Linked DNA regions of Homo sapiens: region 1 is linked to region 2. Evidence: promoter capture Hi-C in 16 types of primary human blood cells and fetal thymus (Javierre and others, 2016). All regions are on one chromosome and are shown on one strand. Each heading gives the region's core, a stretch centred on a gene start or on the middle of the fragment in contact. The rest is flanking DNA. Distances are from core to core; before and after follow the strand shown.

The links. The method cuts DNA at HindIII sites, captures the fragments that hold promoters and counts their contacts. A CHiCAGO score of 5 or more calls a contact.
Region 1: a contact is called between a fragment that was not itself captured here and the fragment with the promoter of ALG3 in region 2, in 1 of 17 cell types (naive CD4 T cells). The highest score is 5.2, in naive CD4 T cells.

What each region holds. Positions count from the first base shown.
Region 1 is chr3:184,169,881-184,172,984 of GRCh38, reverse strand. It overlaps DVL3 (dishevelled segment polarity protein 3), which reads right to left. Exons shown (of 15, transcript NM_004423.4): 14 at 2,764-2,979; 15 at 1-2,666. The coding sequence ends at 2,230. Among named protein-coding and RNA genes, the nearest start is that of AP2M1, 3.4 kb to the left of the region's middle. RefSeq lists an enhancer at 1,150-1,444. The HindIII fragment of the contact is 3,938 bases long and covers 1-3,104 here.
Region 2 is chr3:184,247,190-184,250,331 of GRCh38, reverse strand. It overlaps ALG3 (ALG3 alpha-1,3- mannosyltransferase), which reads left to right and starts at 1,370. Exons shown (of 9, transcript NM_005787.6): 1 at 1,370-1,587. The coding sequence starts at 1,392. EEF1AKMT4-ECE2 (EEF1AKMT4-ECE2 readthrough) reads right to left here and starts at 660. Exons shown (of 19, transcript NM_014693.4): 1 at 442-660. The coding sequence starts at 637. It overlaps EEF1AKMT4 (EEF1A lysine methyltransferase 4), which reads right to left and starts at 660. Exons shown (of 3, transcript NM_032331.4): 1 at 442-660. The coding sequence starts at 637. RefSeq lists enhancers at 774-883, 914-973, 1,054-1,103, 1,302-2,045, 2,046-2,789. The HindIII fragment of the contact is 5,512 bases long and covers 1-3,142 here.

The DNA of each region.
Region 1 (3,104 bases), core at 29-2,528, 77 kb after region 2:
AAAGATGGAACGATGGAAGCACTGATACTGACAGGCATGAGCAATCGTTGAGAAATTCTCAAGAGAGTCGGACAAGACAGAGTCAGAGAGAGAAGTACATGAAACAGCCCTGTAGTGGTGGCTAGAAGCCATGGACTGGGTTGGGAACAATTCTAGAGCTCCCAGAAGGCAGGCAAGATTGAGTCACACTTCCAACAAAGCCCTCTGCACACCAAAACCCCAGGAAGTATTGTTTTTCTTTGTTAGTTTGCTTTTGAGACAGAATCTCACTCTGTCACCCAGGCTGGAGTGCGATCTCAACTCACTGCAACCTCCGCTTGCTTCCTGGATTCAAGCGATTCTTGTGCCTCAGCCTCCTGAGTAGCTGAGATTACAGGCAGGTGCCAAAACACCCATCTAATTTTTGTATTTTTAGTAGAGACAGGGTTTTGCTATGTTGGCCAGGCTGGTCTCGAACTCCCGACCTCAAGTGATCCACCTGTCTCAGCCTCCCAAAGTGCTGGGATTACAGACGTGAGCCACCGCACCCGTCCAAGGAAGTATTGTTAATTGAAATAAATGCCAAAATGTTCCTACCTTGGTTTACCCCAAAACCTGGAGCTAAGAACTTCATCTCACTTTTGACACCCCAGCCCCCAAAATATGGAAGCCCAGGAGAGCCAGGAGAATTTATAGCAGAGGCTTAAAGAGAAAGTTATGATTTGTTTAAAGTAGAGAATAAGGTGAAAAATAAAACCTGGTACTCTGTCTGGAAGTCCTGGAAGTCTCCTTGCCCAACCTCAACTGGCCTGTGGGCTCCTGTGTCCTTGCTCTGGGATGCCATGGTGAATGTGAAAACAGGGGAGGTTGTGTGTGGGGGTGGGAATGGCCTGTCGGTTGCAAGGCGAGTCCTTTGCTGAGCCCAGCCTGAGACCCAGCTTATGGGCTTTATCCAGGTGAGAAAATGCTGGGGACATGTGTGCGAGGTTTAAGGTCTACCAGGAAGGGGAGAAGGGTGTCAGGGGACCAGCCCCACAACCTAGGAGAGGATTAGGAGGGTCCAGCCCTTTGGGCAGGGACCAGCCCTGAGGCTTAAATGAACTTGCATAGGCACCTGTGTATGCATCTCTGTGCATGTATGCATACATGAGTGAGAGAGAAAGATAAAGAGAGCTAAAGAGGCCCCCCTCCCCCCGCCGCAGGCTGCCACACGTGGTGCGATCCGATTCTCTCTGGAAAGGAGGAGAGTCTCTCATGCATGGGTGAAGTTGGGCCCTCCCCAGAAGCCTAGTGACTCATTATGTTAACGTGTGGGTGTGGGGGCTGGACATCCTTGGGAAGCCCTGAGGGGCTGCTGAAGCAGGGTTCCTGGTCTCCTCGGAGGCTGGGCCTCCCCTCGCTGGGGGCTCACAGAAAGTCAAACAGCCCGAAATTCTTGGCTGCTCCAGGCCCAGGGTAAATTGGGGGAGGAAAAAAGAAAGAAAAGAAATGTTTCAGGCCTGGAGGTGAGATGAGCCTGCTGGTTAGTAGGGTTAGGGGTCTGAAGGAACCAGCACGCAGGGCAGGCATGGGGCAGGGGTAGAGCAGAGATGCTCCCTGGAAGCCACCAGCTGCTCAGGCAACTGAGGGGGCCCTCTGGGCCTCTGATCTAGGCACAGGCAGGGATGGCATGGATGGCTATTGGAGGCGACTACAGCTTTAGGTTGCAGGACTGAGGCAGCAGGCAGGGGGATGGTTAGTAGGGGCAGATGAAGCAAATATATTTTGGTTTCAGTAATGTGGGGTAAAGTCAAGAGGTTTGCACACGTGCCTGATGGGGTGGGGTTAATAGAGGGATGATGTAGCTGAATAAATGGTGAAAGGGAGCTAAAGGGGAAACGAGAGAATGAGGGAGTGAGCGTGCCACCAAGGTCATTGCTGGGGTCAACTCCCAAAATGGGGGTTGCAGAGGGGAGTAAGGGGTAGCACCAACAAGTCTGGTCCCAGAGACAAAAGGGGTCCTGGGAAGTCCTGCGCAGGGATTAGTGGGCAGAGGAAACGAACTGGGGCCAGAGGCAGGTTAGGGGGCTGCAGAGCCAATCGGTAGGTGCACCCCACCCTCGCAGCACCCTGCGAGCAGTTAGCGCACCTGGATTTAGTTCCTTTTATTTCCCTTTCAGGTACCAGACAAAGTAAAAAAGACGGACGGATGGAGAGAGGAACGCAGCCGGCTGGGGTGGGAGCGGAATGGAGCTGGGGGAGGGGCCCTGCTCACATCACATCCACAAAGAACTCACTGGGGTTTCCCATGGCCATGCGGAAGGACTGTCTGCTGGCGGTCAGTTCCGGGGGCACTGAGGCCAGGTCGCGGCCCGGAGGGGCTCCTGGGGGCCCCATGGCCGCGGGCGGCGGGGGCATCATCAGCATGGGGGGGCCGTAGAGAGGGGGCACTCCGGGAGGACCGTAGCTCGGGTGTGTGTGGTGGCTGCGAAGGCTGCTGGCCAGGGAATGGTGGCTGCGGTGGCTGTGCTCGCTGGCCGCCGGCCCTGAGCGCTCGCTGGGCGCCCGCTCCCGCGGCCCCCGCAGGCTGCTGCGTGTGGTGTGGTCCGATTCGCTGCCGCTGCCCCCGGACTTGGAGTCCCCGGCCTTCGGGTCCTTCTCCTTCCTCCGATCGCTGCCGCTACGGTTGGAGCCACTGCTCCGACTGCCTGTAGGAGGCAAACAGGGCCGGGGTGGGGCAGGCTGAGCGGGCGGGGGAAGCCTGGGGCCCACCTATAGCCTTCCTCCACGGCCCCTCTACCTTACCTTCGCTGTGCTGACTGCTGGCGCTGCCCCCGCCGTAGCTGTAGCCCAGCTCCGGGAAGCCCGGGTGCGGGTTGTATGGGTGCGGGGGTGGCGGGTACTGGTACGGGAAAGCCATGGGCCAAGGGGCGGCCCCCGGGTGCGGCAAAGGGGCCAGTGTGTCCTGGTCAGAGGCGCCACTGGAGCCATCGTGATCGTGGAGAGACAGGTTGGCCATGTCTGTGAAGGGGAGGGCCGGATGGAGCTAGGTCTTTCCGGAGAGAGGTCCCTAGCCTAGGTCAGGTGGGCTCTGGATGAGAGAGACCGTGGTAGTTTCTGGCTAGAATGAGAGGAGGCACAGCCCA
Region 2 (3,142 bases), core at 121-2,620:
TTATTCTCGAGGTGCCTGCGCGTGCCGCCTCCGATGTGAACTCGCAGTACCATTTCTAGAACTGAATCTAAAGCTCAGAACGGGTTCATGACTTGTCCTAAGTTTTACAAGTCAATTAGCGCTAGGACTTGATCTCGGTCCTCTGAGCAATCCGGTCCCCAAGGCTGCCTGCCTCCCGAGGGTCCGGACAGGGTCTTGGGTACCCCCAACGCTCAAACTCTGAGGGACTGTCTTTCTCCAGAGGGCCCCGGGACCAACAATCTCTTACTCCTGTTAGCCTTGACTAAATACAGCCGGGACTCTGAAGGAGCTGGATCTCGCGTCCCAACGCAGGCGTCCTCCAAGAGGGATAGACAGGCGGGAGGAAAGCGGACCAGGCCAAGCCCATGCGGCGCCGGTCCTGCCAGCTCTACCTGGCGGGGCCGCGCCGGGATTACCCACCTAGCACAAGGATACGGTCCTCGGGCCGCAGCTCCGGCTCTAGGAGGGCACGGAAGGAGGAGAAGTCCCCGAACCAATCGTAGGGGGCAGAATCGGCTGCGCCTTGGTAGCGCTGATCCCAGTACTCGACTTCGCGGTACCCGCAGTTCCGCTCCGGTAACTCCGGAGGCGCCCTACCTGCCCCTGGAGAGGCCATGCTCTCAACCGCCGGGCAGCCAGAGCCGCCGGCCCTTCAGCCAATACGGAAGGCAGGATGCAGAAGGCGGGGCGCTGGTGTCTCCGCCCACCACCTGCAGTTGCTCAACACAAACACGTGGAACTTCCGTCCTTTACTAAGCGCTCTTCGAAGAATCCTCCGGCTGGGAAAACTATCGTCCAGACCCTGAATCCTCCGGCTGTACTGCCAAGTCATTTCCTAGGGCCGCACTCAAGGTGTCAGACTCACGTGGGCTCATCACTGCGTCCTCTCATATTTTCAATATGAATGACTTTTATCAGGAAATCTGAAAATTAGTGAAAGGTTCATTTTTCTCAGCATCCGGAAGGCTCGAAGGGCAGGCAGGAGGGGCGCGAACAGGGGCTTTGCCCTCCTGGAGAGACAGCATGAACACAGATGTTCCCAGCGCAGGCGAAGGAGAATGCTGGCTTCAGCGGTTGTGGGGGAGGTAGGCAGGAATGTTGCTTTTCTGGACATTCGTTCTAAATTAGCGCCTGTGTACCCAGGGCTGGGTATAAACTGAGGAGTAAGACATTGTCCCTGCTCCTATGGAGCGTGGAGTGCATCAGAGGAGACAAATGCAGAAAAATTACATTTTAGTGGAGTAAATGAAGACTGGCTACTCGGATCGGCGCTTAGCCTGGTGGGACGCCAGGCACGGGAAGCGGAACCTAAGTGTCGAAGGTTCGGGTTTCCGGGGGTGGTGGGCCCACACAAGCGGCGCACCGTTAAGATGGCGGCTGGGCTGCGGAAACGCGGCCGGTCCGGTTCCGCGGCCCAGGCAGAGGGACTCTGCAAGCAATGGCTGCAGCGCGCCTGGCAAGAGCGGCGCCTGCTGCTGCGGGAGCCGCGCTACACGCTGCTGGTGGCCGCCTGCCTCTGCCTGGCGGAGGTGGGCATCACCTTCTGGGTCATTCACAGGGTGGCATGTGAGTGCGCCGAGGGGGAGGGGAGGGGAGGGAGGGAGACCTGAACCCGCGACCCAAACTGGATCTCAGACCTGGAACTCCAAACCAGACTCTGTATCCACTCACTCGTCAATTGCGAACCCATCCATATCCCTTACCTGAGCGCCAAGCCTGCTCTACAGAAAACCGGATCTTAATCTGCCCGCATGGCAGAGGTGGATACCCTAGAGATTGGCCTTCTGCACTGAACTTACAGCCTGCAAACCAGCTTAGAAGTCAGATTTGAGCCAAAATTGTTGTACTGCTGCTGCTGCTGCTTTTCTCTGTGGCTTTGGACACCTCAGGTCTCCTCCTGGATCTCAGCTTTTTCCATGTGTTCAGTTCTGTGATCTTTGAACGTCCCTTCTCAATGATGGCATCTTGTGACCACTTGAGTCCATTAGGCATTATTGGCTACTCCTTTCCAGGCTGAAACTATACTCTAGGCTTAAGGCACTTGGCTTTCTTGCTAAAGACTCTTAATTCAACAAATATTTATTTAGTGCTTATTATATGCCTAGCATTATGCTGGTTACCAGAGAGAGGTACAGTGGTGAATAAGAGATGCATTTCTGCCGGGCGCGGTGGCTCACGCCTGTAATCCCAGCACTTTGGGAGGCCGAGGCGGGCGGATCACGAGGTCAGGAGATCGAGGCCATCCTGGCTAACACGGTGAAACCCCGTCTCTACTGAAAAAAAAAAAAAAAAAAGAATTTAGCCGGGCATGGTGGCGGGCGCCTGTAGTCCCAGCTACTCGGGAGGCTGAGGCAGGAGAATGGCGTGAACCCGGGAGGCAGAGCTTTCAGTGAGCCGAGATCACGCCACTGCACTCCAGCCTGGGCGACAGAGCAAGACTCCGTCTCAAAAAAAAAAAAAGAAAAAGGATGCATTTCTAACTCGGGCCTGGACAGTAAGTTAGCAGGCAATTATAATGCATCATAATCATGGTAGTAGTAACACAGGATACCATAAAGGGCATAGGAAGTCACTTAAACCAGGTTGGAGGAGTCAGCAAAGGCTTCATAGAGCCACCCTTGGAAGGTAGGAATTAGCTATTTAAGGAAAGAAGAAAAAGGTGAGGGGAAGGAGTGCTGTGGACAGAGGATCCTCTATTAAAAATCTCCAGCTAGGCTGGGCGCAGCGGCACACGCCTGTAATCCCAGCACTTTGGTAGGCCTAGGCGGGTGGATCTCCTGAGGTCAGGAATTTGAGACCAGCCTGGCCAACATGATGAAATCCTGTCTCTACTAAAAATACAAAAATTAGCTGGGCGTGGTGGCATATGCCTGTAATCCCAGCTACTCGGGAGGTTGAGACAGGAGAATTGCTTGAACCCGGGAGGTGGAGGTTGCAGTGAGCCGAGATTGCGCCACTGTACTCCAGCCTGGGTGACAGAGCAAGCTCCGTGTCAAAAAAAAAAAAAATTCAGTTAGACTGGGCACGGTGGCTCATGCCTGTAATCCCAGCACTTTGGGAGGCTGAGGTGGGCGGATCACTTGGGGGCAGGAGTTAAAGACCAGCCTGGCTGGGCACGGTG